7 separate regions of the Homo sapiens genome follow, and regions 1, 2, 4, 5, 6 and 7 are each linked to region 3. Evidence: promoter capture Hi-C in 16 types of primary human blood cells and fetal thymus (Javierre and others, 2016). All regions are on one chromosome and are shown on one strand. Each heading gives the region's core, a stretch centred on a gene start or on the middle of the fragment in contact. The rest is flanking DNA. Distances are from core to core; before and after follow the strand shown. Region 1 has its middle 14 kb from the start of KRABD5. Region 2 has its middle 51 kb from the start of KRABD5. Region 3 holds the start of AHSP (alpha hemoglobin stabilizing protein). Region 4 overlaps KRABD5 (KRAB domain containing 5). Region 5 overlaps KRABD5 (KRAB domain containing 5). Region 6 has its middle 66 kb from the start of KRABD5. Region 7 has its middle 34 kb from the start of KRABD5.

What was found. Contacts are between HindIII fragments. The CHiCAGO score rates a contact against its expected background, and 5 or more counts as called.
Region 1: a contact is called between a fragment that was not itself captured here and the fragment with the promoter of AHSP in region 3, in 9 of 17 cell types (erythroblasts, neutrophils, activated CD4 T cells and 6 more). The highest score is 15.9, in erythroblasts.
Region 2: a contact is called between a fragment that was not itself captured here and the fragment with the promoter of AHSP in region 3, in 1 of 17 cell types (activated CD4 T cells). The highest score is 5.6, in activated CD4 T cells.
Region 4: a contact is called between a fragment that was not itself captured here and the fragment with the promoter of AHSP in region 3, in 6 of 17 cell types (fetal thymus, total CD4 T cells, naive CD8 T cells and 3 more). The highest score is 7.0, in fetal thymus.
Region 5: a fragment that was not itself captured here is called in contact with the fragment with the promoter of AHSP in region 3 in 5 of 17 cell types (activated CD4 T cells, total CD8 T cells, fetal thymus and 2 more); the score reaches 7.2 in activated CD4 T cells.
Region 6: a fragment that was not itself captured here is called in contact with the fragment with the promoter of AHSP in region 3 in 6 of 17 cell types (total CD4 T cells, naive CD4 T cells, M0 macrophages and 3 more); the score reaches 7.6 in total CD4 T cells.
Region 7: a contact is called between a fragment that was not itself captured here and the fragment with the promoter of AHSP in region 3, in 8 of 17 cell types (naive CD4 T cells, total CD8 T cells, total CD4 T cells and 5 more). The highest score is 9.2, in naive CD4 T cells.

The regions. Positions count from the first base shown.
Region 1 is chr16:31,697,858-31,700,582 of GRCh38, forward strand. No RefSeq gene overlaps it. Among named protein-coding and RNA genes, the nearest start is that of KRABD5, 14 kb to the right of the region's middle. RefSeq lists a silencer at 2,560-2,699. The HindIII fragment of the contact is 5,761 bases long and covers 1-2,725 here.
Region 2 is chr16:31,661,360-31,664,059 of GRCh38, forward strand. No RefSeq gene overlaps it. Among named protein-coding and RNA genes, the nearest start is that of KRABD5, 51 kb to the right of the region's middle. The HindIII fragment of the contact is 3,144 bases long and covers 1-2,700 here.
Region 3 is chr16:31,526,650-31,529,349 of GRCh38, forward strand. AHSP (alpha hemoglobin stabilizing protein) reads left to right here and starts at 1,251. Exons shown (of 3, transcript NM_016633.4): 1 at 1,251-1,313; 2 at 1,487-1,565; 3 at 1,809-2,154. The coding sequence starts at 1,491. The coding sequence ends at 2,042. The HindIII fragment of the contact is 1,316 bases long and covers 259-1,574 here.
Region 4 is chr16:31,734,307-31,737,006 of GRCh38, forward strand. All of the region lies in intron 3 of KRABD5 (KRAB domain containing 5), which reads left to right. Among named protein-coding and RNA genes, the nearest start is that of KRABD5, 22 kb to the left of the region's middle. The HindIII fragment of the contact is 3,107 bases long and covers 1-2,700 here.
Region 5 is chr16:31,754,013-31,756,747 of GRCh38, forward strand. All of the region lies in intron 4 of KRABD5 (KRAB domain containing 5), which reads left to right. Among named protein-coding and RNA genes, the nearest start is that of KRABD5, 42 kb to the left of the region's middle. The HindIII fragment of the contact is 3,312 bases long and covers 1-2,735 here.
Region 6 is chr16:31,778,361-31,781,074 of GRCh38, forward strand. No RefSeq gene overlaps it. Among named protein-coding and RNA genes, the nearest start is that of KRABD5, 66 kb to the left of the region's middle. The HindIII fragment of the contact is 1,355 bases long and covers 623-1,977 here.
Region 7 is chr16:31,678,238-31,680,937 of GRCh38, forward strand. It overlaps the pseudogene RBM22P12. Among named protein-coding and RNA genes, the nearest start is that of KRABD5, 34 kb to the right of the region's middle. The HindIII fragment of the contact is 3,626 bases long and covers 1-2,700 here.

The sequences.
Region 1 (2,725 bases), core at 101-2,600, 170 kb after region 3:
CTAATTGTGGTAATAATAATGATCACACTTAGAATAATGATGAATAACAATAATTGTAATTGCTGACATATTCAGTTTATATGTAGATTTATTATTTGTAATGTTTTAAAATTTACATTTAGTAATATAGACATTAATTGTGTCATAAATGTCAGGACCCCAAAACACCCCACCTAATGAATGACTCTCATCTATGGACCTATGGCTGCCCACCTGCTAGTGCGGGTGCTCTCACCACTCCACCCCCAGAGCTTCGATCTGTCTGGTCAACCTTCTAGGATGATGAAGTAGCTGAAGCACTCTTATGATCTGATTGAGGTCTTGGCAAACAGCTTGACTTGTTAGAAATCGAAGGCTGACTTTAAGACGTACTCAGCTGTTTGGCTAAATTGAGGCAGGAGGAAATGTCTTCTCGGCAGATCTACCTTTGTGTCTCTTGCTTTCAGAGTAAAACGTTGTTTCGGGAACAGTAGTTTAATTTAGTCTGTGTTAAAAATCATAATCAGACTACAAATAACGCACGGGGATGAAAATAATTTGCACACATGTTCGTGCATTATATGTGTTTTCAGATCTCTCCTATGGTAAGAAATGAAAAAGTTATGCCTTGATTTTTTAAACTCAGCCATCAGCCATTTTCCCAAGTTAATCTAAATGTTTGCAAGACATTTCAGAAGCATTCTCTGGTGGGGATTACTCCTAATTGTGAATAATCCTACTAGAAGGATGAGCATCTCAAAAGAACCTTTATTCTATTGCAGAAGAGTCAGTCTTCAGGATCTCAAAGGCCTAGGGAAGCTGCTTGAGTTGTGAGGTCTATGGAGGTACATGGGCTTTGGAGTCAGGCAAAGTTGATCCAGAGTCCCAGTCCAGCCACTTAGTAGCTGTAGTGCTTTGGACATGTTCCTTGACTTGGAACAGTTATATAAACCTTGCTGTAAGAAAAGGCAGAATGATACTGACTGCAAAATGGCTCTGGTGTCCATGCCCTTTGGAATATGCTTTTACAGCTGCTCCAACATAGAGGCAGAATCTGTTTCCTGACGCTTGGATCTGGGCTGGCCTTATTTGCTCTGGGCAATAGAAAGCTATCAATATGGCAATGTGACAGTTTGGGGTCTAGGGACATAAGGCCTTGAATGCTTCTGCTTTTTCTTTTAGAACCCTGCCATCTCCATGAGAACAAGCACATGTTAGCCTGCTGGAGGATGAGATCCCACTGGGGAGGAAAACCAAGGTGCCCCAGCTGACACCCAGAAGCAGAGCCACTTAGTCAACCAGCAGCTGACCACACACGCCTGAAGGAGCCCAGCTGAGACCAGAAGAATGGCCCAGTTGAGTCCAGCCTAAATGACTGACCATCCCAATCATGAGCTAATAAGGTTTAGGGTGGTTTTTAATGCAGCAATAGCTAACTGATACATACACCTGCAGTCAGGTTGCCAGGATTCAAATGACAGGTTGGTCACTACTTGTTGTTACCTGGCAAACAGAAGGCACTGTATAAGGTATTGATTTGCTTTTCCCTTTATTTAAAGTGGGGCCTCTTGTTGGATAGGGATAAATTATACAGAAATGCATGTTGACATGCTTGGTGCTTAAACTCACACAGTCCCCACACCATAGGAGGAAACAGCCCGCCATAGCCTAACCATCAGGGCCAAGGGCAAATTGCAAAATAAAAAAAATTTGCTTTTATTCCCTCCACATCCAAACTTTGGAGGTCAAGGCTGTAGACAGATCTGAAGTCAGGGGTTTCCTCCTGAAGCCTGACACTCTTCATTCACTGTCTGACCTTTGGAAGGCTGAGGGAGCCCTGCCCAGAAGCAGGTGGGCAGCAGTGGTCGACCTGTGGACACCTCCTGACTGCAGCCCTGGCTCTCTCACTGGGCACTGCCTCTCCCACCCTTGGGCATGAGGAAAGAGATGGGCAGGATGAGGGTGTTCGCTCTCGTCTGGCAGGAAAGGGGGTCCAGGCCCTCGATTTCCCTGAGGTTAGACGCGCAAGTGCCCTCAGATCTGCTCTTCAATGCGGAAGCCACTGCCCACGTGGGGCTGCTGAGCTCTTTGGATAGAGCTGGTTGGAACTGAGATGTGCTAGAAGTTTAAATACAGAGTGACTTTACAAGATTTAGTACCCCAAACTTAAGAAGCATTCTCTGGTGGTCTTCATTAATAATTTCATATTGCTCACATATTTGAGTGATAATATTTTGGATATATCGGGTTAAGGTATTACCATCAATTTTACCTGTTTTCCTTTCATGATGCCACTAGGCTACTGTAAATGACACATGCGGCTCAATTTTATTCCTATTGGACATTTCTGACTTAGAGGACTCCCTCCATTTTCAAATCTCATGCTGCCTCCACAAGGGACCAGAGGCCATGAAGGTTATGAAATCTGAAATTTTAAAAGAATCGTTATTATATAATTTTCAATTTTACATATTACCTATATTACTCATAAATTGATATAATCTTATGAGCAAAGTTAAATACCAATGTCCGGAGCAGCCCCAGGTCCCAGCACAGGGAGTCAGCCCTGCCTGAAAAGGGCTGCAGACAATCATTCATTCAGGCCTCATTCAGCCACACCTGTGATCGCATCTCCTGTCACTCGGGGGTAAGGGGGCGGGACCTGGAGCCCTATCCATTCAGCGGCGCCGTTGTCGAGCCTGTCCAATCAGGCGCGCAGCCGAAAAAGGGGGCGCACTTCCTGTGT
Region 2 (2,700 bases), core at 177-2,676, 130 kb after region 3:
CTAATTGGGCTACTTTTCCTTTTAAGTTATTTAAGGAATTTAAGCAAGCCATTAGTCAATATGGGCCAAATTCTCCTTTTGTACAAAGTTTACTAAAAAATGTGGCTCTTGAGAATAGATTAATATCATATGACTGGGATACTTTAACAAAATCTGCTCTCACTCCATCTCAGTACTTACAGTTTAAAACCTGGTGGGCTGATAAAGCACAAACCCAGGCAAGGGAAAACACACAAGCACAGCCACCTGTGCGTTTGTTTTGAACAGATAATGGGAGTTGGCCCTAATTGGGGTCGATTAGAAAATCAAGCAGTAATGGAGAACGTTGCCATTGTTCAGTTACGCATGGTGCACTTATGGGCATGGGAGAGAATAAATGTTACAGGAGAAAAATATCCTTCTTTCAGTTCTGTCCAACAAGGACCTAAAGAACCATATACTGATTTTATTGCTTGGCTCCAGGAGGCTGTGTATAAGGCCATAACTGACAAAACAGCTCAAGATGTTGTAATACAGCTTCTTGCATATGATAATGCTAATACAGAGTGTCAAAATGCTATTAGACCTACCAGAGGGAAGGCTCACTTGGCTGAATATATTAAGGCTGGTGATGGCATTGGGGGTAACTTACACAAGGCTACTCTTTTAGCTCAAGCTATGGCTGGACTAAAGGTGGGAAAAAATATGCCCCGATTCTCAGGCTCTTGCTTTAATTGTGGGCAATTTGGACACACACAAAAGGCATGTAGATAAGGAAATCAAAAGGCAAAAACTATTGCCATAAATCAACAGAAAAGTTCCGGTGTATGCCCCCAGTGTAAGAAGGCAATCACTGGGCAAATCAGTATCATTCTAAATTTAGTAAAGATGGGCAACCTCTTTCAGGAAATGGGAAGAGGAGCCTGCCTCAGGCCCCTCAACGAACCGAGGAATATCTGGCACAGTCAGTGCCTTACAAACGTACAACAATTGTCCCCTGCCACAGCAGGCAGTGCTGCCGTAGATCTCTGCAGCACAATGCCTGTCTCCTTACTTCCTGGGGAGCTGCCAAAGAAGGTCCCCATGGGAGTTGGGGGCCCTTTACCCTCATGAACAGTTGGTCTATTGCTTGGAAGGTCTAGCTTAAATTTAAAAGGTGTCACTGTGCATACAGGAATAATTGATTCTGATTATGCCAGAGAGATTCAACTAGTTATTAGTTCCTCAACTCCATGGTCTGCTTCTCCAGGAGGAAGAATTGCTCAGTTGTTGCTGTTACCTTATACAAAACTGGGAAGCAGCACTGTAAAAAGAACAGGAGGCTTTGGTAGTACTAACCCAGCAGGAAAAGCTGTATATTGGGTTAATCAAGTGTCTGATAAGAGACCTATTTGTACAGTAACCATTCAGGGAAAGGACTTTGAAGGGTTAGTAGATACTGGAGCCGATGTTCTTATTATTGCTTTAAATCAATGGCCCCGACACTGGCCCAAACAAAAGGCATCCATCAGTATTGTTGGAGTAGGAGCTGCTTCAGAAGGTTTTCAAAGTTTCTTGATTTTACCATGTCAGGGGCCGGATGGCCAGGAAGGGACAATTTGACCTATTATTACACCTATTCCTGTCAATCTATGGAGTAGAGACTTATTGCAACAATGGGGTGCTGAAATTTCTATTCCTATGGATCAGTATCGTAATAACAGTAAACAAATGATGAAAAATATGGGATATCTCCCTGCAAAAGGATTACGAAAGAATGAAAGTGGCCAACCAGAACCTTTAGAACTAAAAGGGCAAACAGATCAAACTGTATTAGGGTATCATTTTTAGATGTGGCCATTGCTGAGCCGCCCTCTCCCATTCCTCTTGTTTGGCTAACTGCCAAACCAGTTTGGGTGGAGCAATGGCTGCTGAAACAGAAAAAACTGGAGGCTTTTAAAAAATTAGCAGAGGAACAATTGCAAAAGGGACACATAGAGCCTGCTTTCTCCCTTGGAACTCTCTCTTGTGTTTGTTATTAAGAAAAAATCAAGGAAATGGAGAATGTTAACGGATTTGAGGGCAGTTAAAATTAAACCCATGGGTGCACTGCAACCAGGGCTGCCCTCTCCAACAATGATCCCAAAATACTGGCCTCTAATAGTGATAGATTTAAAAGACTGCTTCTTTACCATTCCTTTAGCTTCCAAGATTATGAAAAATTTGCTTTTACTGTTCCTGCTATAAATAACAAATAACCAGTGGACAGATACCATTGGAAAGTATTACCACAAGGCATGTTAAATAGCCTGACTATTTGTCAAACTTATGTCGGAAAAGCTATTAAGCCAGTTAGAGAACAATTTAAAAAATGTTATATTATCCATTACATGGATGATATTTTATGTGCAGCTGAAACTAGGTAGGAATTAATACTATGCTACAAAGAGTTAGAAAAGGCTGTAACTGCAGCAGGATTAATCATAGCCCCCGATAAAATTCAAACCTCTACTCCCTTTCAATATTTAGAAATGAAGGTAGAACAAAGTACTATTAAGCCTCAAAAGGTTCAAATTCGAAGAAATAATTTAAAAACTTTAAATGACTTTCAAAAATTATTGGGAGACATTAATTGGATTCATCCAACCTTAGGCATTCCTACCTATGCTATGTCTCACCTTTTTTCTACCTTATGAGGTGATTCTAACTTAAACAGTAAATGCTCCCTGTCCAAAAAGGCAT
Region 3 (2,700 bases), core at 1-2,500:
CTAAAATACAAAAATTAGCTAGGCGTGGTGATGCACGCCTGTAATCCCAGCTACTTGGGAGGCTGAGGCAGGAGAATCGCCTGAACCTGGGAGGTAAAGTTTGCAGTGAGCTGAGATCGCATCACTGCACTCCAGCCTGGGCCACAGAGGGAGACTCCCTCTCAAAAAAAAAAAATTTAATATACTGTACACCAAAAGGAAGTCAGTTTTGCTGTATATTGATTAAAAAATGCTACAACCAAAAAGGCAAATCAACAAAGCTTTATGAGTGTATAGGCACCTATGAATGTTGGGTTTTGAATGGAAAAAAAAAGTGACAGGAAATATACAATGTTTAATGCTGGTTACTTTGGAGGGGGCAAAAATGATTCAGTTTTTCAGTGTACGTTTTTGTATTGTTTTAATTATTTCAATTAGTATATAGTGATTTTGAAATTTGAGAAACATCTACTGAAAATGGAAAATATCTGGAAAAATATTTAAAAAGAGGAAAAAGAGTATTTCTGCTTTATTGGGTACCTGTTGACAGGGTAGTAAACAAGACAAATCCATCTCCATTCTTTTTTTTCTTTTGAGATGGAGTCTCGCCCTGTCACCCAGGCTGGAGTGCTGTGGTGTGATCTTGGCTCACTGCAACCTCTGCCTCCTGGGTTCAAGCGATTTTCGTGCCTCAGCCTCCCAAGTAGCTGAGACTACAGGTGCCCGCCACCACGCCCGGCTATTTATCTCCATTCTTATGGAGCACAGCGTGGTGGAGTTCAGTCCACACGCTTACAGGTGGCTTATCTGCAAAATGTGTCTAAAAAGAAATTTTATAGGATAAATATTTTGTACATGTTTGAAACAGTGCTTGGCACAAATGAATAAATGTAATGCAAGCTGCTATTAATACATCATCTCCGAATTGGGAGAATCATTGCGATCACATCGTTGTGATTACACAAAAGCCTCTGTCATGTAATAGGGCTCAGTAAACGTCAATTTCCATAGCATTTCGAGCCTGGATACTGAAATATGGGGCAAAAAGCAGGAACATGCCCCTGGTTTGGCTCTTGCCTTCTTGCATTTCCTGGGTTTCCTCATTTATCTTTTTTTTTTTTTTTTTTGGCCTTGTTATCTTTCTACCTTCAGGGAAGCCTCTCCCTTCTTCTCCTCCCTAGAATGACCTATCACCCTCCTTCAGGACCTAGATGCAGGGCGTTTCTATCTTAGGCTGACACTTGACTCCTTGCCTACATCTATAGCTTGGCACAGAGAGATTCACGCACCCTCAAGAGTGTGGGTGAGACATATACAGCCTGTTAGACCTGAAGGTGAGCCCAACCTGGGAAAATCGTGACCTCAGAGCAGGGCAGGATGTGAAAGGTTTTGGAAAGGAGATAGCCCTGCAGGGCAGGAGGGATTTTTAAGGGGAGGAAGTGGGTTGGGGGAAATACCCAGTGAGGAGGGAAACAGATATGTAAATTCTACCCTTTTCTCTACCCAGGCAGATGGCTCTTCTTAAGGCCAATAAGGATCTCATTTCCGCAGGATTGAAGGAGTTCAGCGTTCTGCTGAATCAGCAGGTGAGTCCAAGCTTTCCATTTCAAAGGACTGGCCTGGAGACTGGGGGGTGCCGGGGAAGTGGAGGAAGAGGATAATTGGAGCTGGTGAAGTAATGGTGGAGTTGATGGAAACAACGAGAGACACGGGATACAATGCAGAGGAAAGAGAATGTGAGAGTTGGTGCTGTGGCACTATTCTAGTATTCCCGAATCCCATTGCTGACCACATTCTCCCTTGCCAACTGCCTCTCCGCAACCCCCCAGGTCTTCAATGATCCTCTCGTCTCTGAAGAAGACATGGTGACTGTGGTGGAGGACTGGATGAACTTCTACATCAACTATTACAGGCAGCAGGTGACAGGGGAGCCCCAAGAGCGAGACAAGGCTCTGCAGGAGCTTCGGCAAGAGCTGAACACTCTGGCCAACCCTTTCCTGGCCAAGTACAGGGACTTCCTGAAGTCTCATGAGCTCCCGAGTCACCCACCGCCCTCCTCCTAGCTCAGGGACCCAGCCCCTCCTCTCTGAGAAACTCTGACCTTCATGTCCTTAGGCTGTGCTCCTGCCACTCTACCCTGACACCTCAATAAAGACCAGTGCTGGTTTTGTTGGACTTCCTGGCTTCTCTTTCATGGTCTGTCCTGACATGTGGAGGCACTCGGTCCCTTTCCTTCCGCCCTCCTTCTTAGATATGCTCTTGGAAGCTTAATTCCTTACAGCAGAGGTTAGCAGCCTTGAGTGACCACCGGGCAGCGATTCTAAACTAAAACAGGCTGAACGAGGGCCAGGAAGGCGGGACTAGAGAGAGTGCAGAGCTGCAGGGGAGGGGGTGGCAGAAACAAGAAAGGGGGATAGAAGTCCTCCAGACATTGTCCTGTGACCTGCTTGTCGAGGAGGAAACTGTTGGAAGTCTCCCAGTCTTGTTCATCCTGCGCCAGGTCCACCGCCTCGACTTTTCAATCCCCTGTCCTTAGCCCCAGCTCAAACTACATTCTAGGATCTTCGGACTCTGACTACCGCAAAATACCTCCCCGGAGCCCCAGGCATCGCAGGAATTTAGAGTTGGAAGGGATCCTGGGAACCCTTTAGCGCGCCCCTTATATTTCAGGAGGGGAAGCCACTTCCCTTTGGCTCCAACATCCCTGGGCGCAGATGCCAG
Region 4 (2,700 bases), core at 8-2,507, 210 kb after region 3:
GTGGCACAATTGTAGTTCACCATAGCTTCAAACTCTTGGGCTCAAGTGATCCTCCTGCCTCAGCTCCCCAAGTCGTTAGGACTACAGGCATATGCCACCGTGCCTGGCTAATTTTAAAAAATTTTTGCAGAGATAGGGTCTCACTACATTGTCCAGGCTGGCCTTGAACTCCTGACCTTAAGTGGTGCTCCTGCTTCCGCCTCCCAAAGTACAGGGATTATAGGCATGTTACACTGTGACTGGCCTTTTATAGCTATTTTGTAATATGCAATACCCTTCTATTAACCATTGTTACTGTACTGTGTAATAGAACACCAGAACTTACTTCTCCTGTGTAATTGTAACTTTATACCTGTTAACCAACCTCTTTCTATTCCTCCCCCTTCAGTCTCTGGTAACCACTGTTATACTCTGCTTATATCAGCTTTTTTTTCCTTTTCTTTTTCTTTTTTTTTTTTAAGACAGAGTCTTGCTCTGTTGCCCAGGCTGGAGTGCAGTGGCGTGATCTCAGCTCACTGCAACCTCTGCCTCCTGGGTTCAAGGTATTCTCCTGCCTCAGCCTCCTGAGTAGCTGTGATTACAGGCATGCACCACCATGCCCAGCTAATTTTTTTGTATTTTTAGTAGAGACGGGGTTTCAACATATTGGCCAGACTGGTCTTGAACTCTTGAACTAAAATGATCCACCCCTCTTGGCCTCGCAAAGTGCTGGGATTAGAGGTGTGAGCCACTGTGCCCTGCCCGCCTGCCTGCCCTTTCTTTTCTCTTTTCTTTTCTCTTTTCTTTTCTTTCTCTCTCTTTCTTTCTTTTTTTCTTTCTTTCTTTTCAGGTTACTCATTTGAGTAAGATCATGAAGGGTTTATCTTTCTGTATATGGCTTATTCACTTAACATGATATCTCATGGTTCATCCATGTTATTGCAAAGGACAGGATTTTATTCTTTTTTAATGGCTGAATAGTAATTCATTGTGCATTTACACCACATTTTCTTTATCCATTTATCTCTTGGTGTACATTTGGATTGATTTCATATCTTGGCTGTTATAAAGAGTGCTGCAGTAAACATGGGAATGCAGCTATGTTTTTGACACGTTGATTTCCTTTCTTTTGGATATATACCCAATAGTGGAATTGCTGAATCATATGACAGCTGTATTTTTAATTTTTCAGGAACCTCCATACTCTTTTATAGTGGCCATACTACTTTACAATCCCATCAACAGTATATATGTGTTCCTTTTTCTTCACATCCTCACCAATACTTGTTTTAGTTATATTTTTTGTCTTTTTGATTATAGTCATTTTAACTGGAGTGTGGTGGTATCTCATTGTGGTTTGTATTTGCATTCCCTTGATGATTAGTGAAGTTGAGCATCTGTTTATGCACCTTTTGGCCATTTGTATGTCTTCTTTTCACTAATGTCTATGAAGGTCTGTGGCACATTTTTAAATTGGATTGTATGTTTGTTTTATTTTGAGATTTCAAATTTCTTATATACTCAATATTAACCTCTTGTCATATGTATAGTTTGCAAATGTTTTCTCCCATTGTCTAGGTTGTCTCTTCACTCTGTTATTTCATTTCATATGCAAAAGTCTTTTAGGTTGATGTAATCTCATTTGCCTATTTTTGCTTAGGTTGCCTTTGCTTTGAAGTCGGAATTTCCAAGTCCGATGTTGTAAAGTATTTGCCCTGTTTTCATCTAATAGTTTCATAGTTTAGGGCATTACATTTAAGTCTATAATCCATTTTGAGTTGGTTTTTGTATATGATGAGGGTTAGGGGTCTAGTCTTATTCTTCTGTATATGGATATTCAATTTTTCCTGCACCGTTTATTAAAGAGATTGTCTTTTCCCCAAAGTGTGTTCTTGGCATCTTTGTTGAAAATCAGTCAGCTTTAGGAGCATGAATTTATTTATGGACTCATTGGGCATATTGGTCTATGTGTTTGCTTTAATGCCAGTATAATGCTGTTTGGGATACTGTAGCTTTGTAGTAAATTTTGAAGTCAGGTAGTGTGATGCCTTGAGCCTGCTTTGTTCCTTTTGCTCAGGATTGCTTTGGCTATTCAGGGTATTTTGTGGTTCCATGTACATTTAGTTTTTTTTTTTTTTTTCTATTTTTGTGAAGAATGTCATTGGTATTCTGATAGAAATTGCGTTAAATCTATAGGTCACTTTGGGTAACATGCCCATTTTAATAATATTCTTTTTTTTTTTTTTTTTAAGATGGAGTCTTGCTCTTGTCACCCAGGTTGGAGTGCAATGGCGCGATTTTGGCTTACTGCAACCTCCGCTTCCTGGATTCAAATGATTGTCCTGCCTCAGCCTCCCAAGTAGCTGGGATTACAGGCACCCACCACCACGCCCAGCTAATTTTTATATTTTTTTGATAGAGACAGGGTTTCACCATGTTGACCAGGCTGGTCTTGAACACCTGACCTCAGGTGATCCACCCGTCTCAGCTTCCCAAAGTGCTGGGATTACAGGCGTGAGCCACTGCGCCTGGCCCATTTTAATAATATTCTTCCAATATATAAACACAATATATTTTCATCTATTCACATGTATTTCATTTTTTCATCCATGTTTTATGATTTTCAGTGTAGAGATCTTTCACTTTTTTATTTAAGTTTATTGCTGGGTATGTTAATTTTTTATAGTTATTTGTATACACAGAAAAAGTATTTGACAAAAT
Region 5 (2,735 bases), core at 199-2,698, 230 kb after region 3:
TATGTCAGTTGCTTTTTCTAAACCATGTGTTTCTGTAAGTAAGTGTCAACATCAATTTTTGAAACTTACCTTTTCTTTTAAAGGAAATTTGGATAATCCGAATAGTGACTTAGTCCATGTTTCAAATAATCATTTAAACCAATTAAAATATAGAACTGGAGTAAATGTTCAGTCAAATATTTCTGAAAAGGAGAGATTTAAAAACGAGGAGGTGATTTCTAAATATGATCAATTTGATGGATCTTTGTTAAAAGTTTGTTTCACCAACAAATAACACCTCGTTCTGCCTGTGATCAATATAGAAAGGTCTTCATTCATTCATCATTGCTTAATCAATGTCAAGGAATAGATAATTTGGGAAAATATCACACACATAATAAAACTTTGACAGCCTTTAGGCAGGACTATACCCTAAATAATTACCAGTATATTTGTGTTGCAGAGAAAAATCAGTACAATAAATCTGATACAACATTAAGCCAAGGCATAAGCCCCAGAAGACATCAGAAAACTCATTTTCTACATAACCATTGCAAACGTAAAAAATGTGAGAAAGCCTTTCATGAATGCACCAACCATGTCCATCAGAGTATCTTTATTCAAGAGAAGTCTGCCAAATGTAATAAGTGTATAGAAACTTTTATCCAGTCATCAAAACATACTCAGCCTCAGAGAATCCATATTGGAGAAAAGTCACACAGATGTAATAATGGTGAGAAAATCCTTAGTAAATTGTCAAGTCTAAGAAAACATAAGATAATCCATAATGAAGAGAAACCTTACAAATGTAAAGAATGTGACAAAGCCTTTAACCATCGTTCACACCTTACTCAACATCAAATAATTCATACTGGAGAGAAACCATACAAATGTAAAGAATGTGGCAAAGCCTTCAATTCTAGTTCATATTTTACTAGACATCAGAGAATTCACACTGGAGAAAAACTTTACAAATGTAAAGCGTGTAGCAAATGTTTTACTCATTCTTCAAATCTTCTTGTGCATCAGAGAATTCATACTGGAGAGAAACCTTACAAATGTAAAGAATGTGGTAAATCATTTAAAGTGTCTTCAGCCCTTACTCAGCATGAGAGAATTCATACTGGAGAGAAACCCTATAAATGTAAGGAATGCAGCAAAGCCTTTAACTGTAGGTCGTACCTAACTAAACATCAGAGAATTCATACCGGAGAAAAACTTTACAAATGTAAATCATGTAGCAAATCTTTTTCTCGTTCCTCAAGTCTTATTGTCCACCAGAGAATTCATACTGGAGAAAAACCCTATAAATGCAAAGAATGTGGCAAAGCCTTTAATTGTAGTTCACGCCTTACTCAACATCAAAGAATTCATACCGGAGAGAAACCCTACATATGTAAAGAATGTGGCAAAGCCTTTAACTGTAGTTCATCCCTTACTAAACATCAGAGAATTCATACTGGAGTAAAACTTTACAAATGTAAAGCATGTAGCAAATCTTTCTCTCATTCCTCATGTCTTTCTGTGCATCAGATAACTCATACTGGAATGAAACCATATATATGTAAGGATTGTGGCATCTCCTTTAACCGGTCTTCAAACCTTAGACGACATCAGATGATTCATACTGGAGAGAAACCCTACAAATGTAAAGAATGTGGCAAATTATTTAATCGATGCTCAACCCTTACTCGACATAAAAGTATTCATACTAGAGAATTTCTATAGTTGTAGTAAATGTGAAAAGAGTTTTATCCAAAATTTAGAACTTAAAAATCACCATAGAGTTTATAGGGAAACCGACTTTACAGATTGAATAAATGGGAGGAAGTATTTAATCAGAACTCAAATCTGAATGTGTCAGGACTTACACAAAAAAGGACTAAAGCACAGATCCCCACTTTAAAATTAAATAAGAGTATTTGTTATGGAGGATTACTCTAAAGCCAAAGCAGTTACTTATTTTGTTATGTGTTTCAAATGAGCAAAAGCATTGATGTTTGGACAAGTAATTATTCAGTGAGCATGTTATTTGTATTGAAAACATTTGAAATTTGTATAAAGCAAATCATAATTTAATTCTCAGATTAGTTGTTATACCTTAATGCCTAGTGTTTATATAAAAACATATAGTCTATTTTTTCTGCATCAGAGCTGTAAGAGGTCGTTCTATAGTAGGTGAACATCATTAATATCAACTTATTTTCTTGGAAATTTAATGGCAAATGTAAAATACATGAAGAAAATCTAAAAGAGGCTCTTTGTGTTTGAATCATTAAACAGTAATATGTGTAAACATATAGTACATATTTAGGGCATTAGTATTCTATACTAAAGTAAAAGAGGAATATTCTGAATTTATTTATTACATCAATTGCTCCTTAAGTAGAAAAACACTGGTCAGTTATTTAAAATACTGGCATACCTTTATAGTACAATGAAGTAGTAATCTTGAATATTATTTGATGTGTTAAAAATAAAAACATCTTCACAGATATCAGAGAAAAGTGAAAACTCATATCTGAAAGATTATAAATATACTTTATATCAATTTTCCAGAGAACTTAAACTTCTAATAATATTGGTAATATTCTCATGGTTACTATTTTATATTCTTTCCTGCTTTTTGTAGCTACTGGTGTACTATGACAGTTATAATAAAGATTATATGGGGGTATACTTAAATGCCATACTTTTAAAATCCTGAATCATTGTTTATAAAGTTTTATTCAATATTTTTCTTTGCACATGCCCTT
Region 6 (2,714 bases), core at 50-2,549, 250 kb after region 3:
TTATTCAATCTGGACAATTTTTACTTTCCAGTATAATTTCCCGAGGTGGAGTACAATGTTGGATAGAGTGCTAAAAGTGGAAATTATGGTCCTGTTCCCAAAGTTATCAGTCAAGTACTCAGTCTTTCACCATCAAGTATAATGCTAGTTGTAGGTTTTTATAGATGGCTTTTAGCAGGACTCACTTTTTTGTCTATTAGTAGCATTCTGTTTTTTTTTTTTTTATCACAATGTATGTTAGATTTTTGTCAAATGTTTTTCTGTGTCTATCGAAATGTTCTTTTTGTCATGTATTCAAGTAATATTGTGTATTATCTTAATTGACTTTTAGATATTAAGCTAACATTGCATTTATGAAAATAAAATCTCACTTGGCTATGGTATATAATCATGTTTATTATGTTCCTGGAATAAATTTCCTAGTATTTAATAAGGATTTCTGTGTCTGTAGTCATTACGGATTTTTCTTTCTAGTCTTCTTGCAATGCTTTTTTCCAGCTTTGGTATCATGGCACTCCTGGCCTCATAGAGTAAATTGGGAAGTGTTGCTTCTATTTTTGGAAGTTACTTTGAAGAATTAGCATGAATATTTTATTAGATGTTGATAAGATTTATCATTTAAAGCTTTTGATTCAGAGATTTTCAATGTGGAAAGACTTTTAATTAATATTTTGTCTTCTGACATGACTTTATATACAGTCATGTGTTATTTATCAATGGGGATATGTTCATAGATATGTGTTGTTAGGCATTTCATCATTTTGCAAACAGCATAGAGTGTACTTACACAAACCTAGATGGTAGACCCTATTGCACACCTAGGCTATATGGTATAGCTTGTTGCTCCTATGCTACAAGTCTGTGAAGCATGTTACTCTACTGAATGCTATAGGCAGTTGAAACACAATGGTAAATATTTATGTATCTGAAGATACCTAAACATAGAGGAGGTACAGCAAAAAATACAATATAAAAGATAAAAAATGGTACATCTGTATAGGGCACTTACGATGAATGGAGCTTATGGGGCTGGAAGTTGTATAGTAAATACATAAATTAATAACATAGTCATTTATTATCATTATCAAGTATTATATACTGTACATAATTGTATGTGATATACATATATATGACTGACAGCACAGGGTTGTCTACCCCAACTGATATGGTTTGGCTCTATGTCTCCACCCAAATCTCATCTTGTAGCTCCCATAATTCCTACATGTTGTGGGAGGGATGCAGTGGAGGATAACTGAATCATGGGGGTAGGTCTTCCCCGTACTGTTCTTGTAATAGTGAATAAGTCTCATGAGATCTGATGATTTTAAAAATGGGAGTTTCCCTGCACATGCTCTCTCTGTTTGCCAGCCACCATCCACATAAGATCTGACTTGCTCCCCCTTGCCTTCTGCCATGATTGTGAGGCCTCCTCAGCCATGTGGAACTGTAAGTCCATTACACCTCATTCTCTTGTAAATTGCCAAGTCTTGAGTATGTATTTATCAGCAGTGTGAAAATGGACTAATACAGTAAATTGGTACCAGGAGTGGGGCACTGCTGAAAAGACACCCAAAAATATAAAAGCGACTTTGGAACTGGGTAACAGGCAGAGGTTGGAACAATTTGGAGGGCTCAGAAGAAGACAGGAAAATGTGGGAAAGTTTGGAACTTCCTAGAGACTTATTGAATGGCTTTGCCCAAAATGCTGGTAGTGATATGGGCGATAAAGTCCAGGCTGAGGTGGTCTCACATGGAAATAAGGAACTTTTTGGAAACTGAAGCAAAGGTGACTCTTGTTATGTTTTACCAAAGGGACTGGTGACATTTTGCTCCTGCTGTAGAGATCTCTGGAACTTTAAATTTGAGAGAGATGAGTTAGGGTATCTGGTGGAAGACATTCCTAAGCAGCGAAGCATTCAAGATCTGACTTGGGTGCTTTTAAAGGCATTCAGTTTTATGAGGAAGGGGGACCATAAAAGCTTGGAAAATTGCAGCCTGAAAATGCAATAGAAAAGAAAATCCCATTTTCTGAGAAGAAATTCAAGCCAGCTGCAGAAATTTTCATAAGTAACAAGGAGGTGTATGTTAATCCCCAAGACAATGGAGAAAATATCTCCAGAGCATTTCAGAGGTATTCACGGCAGCTCCTCCCATCACAGGCCTGGAGGCCCAGGAAGAAAAAATGGTTTTGTAAGCTGGGCCCAAGGCTCCCCTACTGTGGGGAATCTAGGGAGTTGGTGCCCTGAGTCCCAGCCACTTGAATGACTAAAAGGGGCCAAGGTATAGCTCAGACCATGGCTTCAGAGGTTGCAAGCCCCAATCCATGGCAGCTTCCACCTGGTGTTGAGCTGCAGGTGCACAGAAGTCAAGAATTGAGGTTTGAGAACCTCTGCCTAGATTTCAGAGGATGTATAGAAATGCCTGGATGTCCAGGCAGAAGTTTGCTGCAGGGATGTGGCCCTCATGGAGAACCTCTGCTACGGCAGTGCTGAAGGGGTCAGAGCCCCCACACTGAGTCCCTACTAGGGCCCACCTAGTGGAGCTATGAGAAGAGGGCCACTGCCCTCCAGACCCCTGAATGGTAGAACCACTAACAGCTTGCACTCTTCACCTAGAAAAGCTGCAGACACTCAACACTAGCCTGTGAAAGCAGCTGGGAGGAAGGCTGTACCCTGCAAAGCCACAGGGGCAGAGCTGCCCAAGACCATGGAAAC
Region 7 (2,700 bases), core at 149-2,648, 150 kb after region 3:
GGTGGGATTTGTGTGTCTGCACATAGCCCACAAAATAGCCTGGTGTGGTTGGTGCCAAAACATGAAGGGAACTGGAGAATGAAAGTTGATTATCAGGAACTGAATAGGGTGACTTTGGCCGTGTGTGCTGCCCTTACAAGTATGGCTCAAATATTTGAAAAACTGACTACTTGTTCAGGGCCATGTCATACTGTCCTGAATTTAGTAAACATTCTGCAGCATATCCTTAGACCCAAAGCCATAGGACCTCTTTTTCTTCACCTGGCAGGGCCAATAATGTACCTTTTAGAGCTTTCTCCATTTTGTTTTATGTATAATGTCCAGGGATTTTAGTTGTACTTATTGGGAAGAATAGAGACATATATGTCTAGTCTTGTCTTCCCCAGAACTGAAATGCTTGGTTGTGAATAGATTAAACTGAGCTATCTCTAGTTTGTCCATTATCCAAGCAGAAATATCAAGTTACTGATATTAGTTCCCATCTGAGGCTCTTCTCCAGGTGGTGGCATCCCTTCCTGGGCCCTGGGGCCTTGGCTGCATCAGCAAGGAGAGATGCTGCCACTCAGGTCTTGAGCTCCGCTCTAGCATAGTGATGTCACTGTCTGTGGTGAAGAATATGATTAACAACAAAGTCTCCTGCAAACCCAGGAAATCTCTCCAGAAAGACAGAGGAGAAAGAAAACAGTTTCATTGAAGAATCATTAAACCACATTGTGATGCACAAAACAGACAATAACTTAGCGCATGGCAAGAAAGAAGGAAATCTCACCTTTGTGTATAGGCAGGCAGTTACAACCAGTGCTTGCGTGTTCCTGAGATAAACAGCAACCAGTCCTCAAGGAAGTGACTTGACAGCACTATTTTTATATGTCCCTCGAGGGTAGCCACAGTGCTCGCTAATCGGATTTATGACAAGAAAAGACCAGTGTCTCACAATTTATGGCAAGAGTAGGTTAGTAAGTTAGAGCCAGGCACTGGCGGAAGTTGGGCTCCTACCCTCTCACAGGAACTCTCTCCCTTAATGATTCCATTTCAGAGATGGCTCCCAGGCCCTTGAGAAAGATAGTCCTGGTTGGAAGCTGGCAAGAGGTTACTTAACTTTTGAAGAGACTTCCATATATCACAAAGGGACAGAGAAGAAACTCATAAGGATATTTTTTCTTTAAAAAAATGCTCAGAAAGAAAAAATCAGGGTTCCTATTCCCTTTTTCACTGGGACAAATTTGTTTCATTGGTAATTACCCTTGTATCCGCCAATGGTTCAATGACCTCCACCTTCTACTCTTCAGTCTTACCTCTAGTTCAGCCACTGCCTCCTACTCTCTGGTACTCAGCCCTGTGTCTTGCAGAGCTGCCTTTCTCCTTATATTCTCAACCCTGTTTCCTAAACTCAGGGATCTCCATGCTCTGCCTGGATCCTGCCTGCCTGCACTCCCTCCTGGATGCTCTTTGCAGGCTCTGAGCTGGGGTAGCCAGGGGGTCCCCTCCCTTGGATTCAGCCTCCAGACCACTATCCTGTGCTCCTGTCAGACACTTTCCAGGGTCTGGACATATTTGGGTCACATAGTGGATCTGACTTTCTATTTGTTTGATGCTGGAGGGAGTCTGGACCTTGTTCTTTCACATACACAGAAAACAAAGCTCTAAATTGATTTTGAAATTCTTTGTTATTAATTTTGGACTGAGATAAATTCTCTATTACTTTACAGTGACACAAATATTGTAGCTCAGTTCCTGGTAGTTAGAATTTTAGATAATTATTTTCAGTACTATGATTTCCCATATTTAATCAACTCGTAGGCAAGGCATGAATAGAGATTGTCTTATGTTAGAATACCTTTTTCTTTAATTTTTTGAATCAGCTCTCTTCCCACACCAACCCACAATCTCTCTGTTCTAGCCTCAGTCACTTTTGGTAGCCCTGAGTTTTTATTCTGGGCAACAAAGGCAGCTCAATAGATGATGGGTCTATGGCTCATTATATATGGGGCTCTTGCCAAGCAACACCTGGTGACCAGAAGGTGACCCAAGCTCTCTTCTCAGGGCAGATCACTATGCCTGAAACAAAAGAAGAACCCTTCCAGGGCAGAAATACTTAGCCTGAAAATCCTTTCATTCATTCACTGTTCAGGTGTCTTTATCCATTATTGAGCATGATAAATATCCAGACAGGTGCTTCCTGACATGTCCATGAGTTTAAGGATTAGACGTTACTTCTCCCAGGGATCCTGGTTCTTGCTCTTCTCATTTAAGGTTTTATTATCTCCCAACAACAGATACGAGAGCATGCTTAGGGCTTGGCAGCATAGAGGGGGTCTTTGGAAACCACTCAACTATACGCTGTGAGTAGTTTCAAAGGGCATTCGCATTTCTCTGTCCCTTCCAGGCCAGTCCTTGGAGAGATCAGGAAATCCAGAGCTTCCTACAAGAATGGGGATTCCTTGGAAGAGTTTCACCTTGGGACAAAAAAGAGGAATCATGGTGTCAAAGGCAATTGCCCAGGGTCTCAAGAATAGGGGCATGAAGAAGAGTTGGGCTGATGGGTGTGTGGCGGTCCTGGCTACCACCTCGAATGCTACCACTGCCTCTAGACCCTCTCAAGACGGTGACATTTCTTGGTTCCAATACCTAAAATAAGCAAAACTGGGAAGACGTAAACTTCTCCATTCTGTGCCAGACATGTCTTGGAGAAAACCTGTA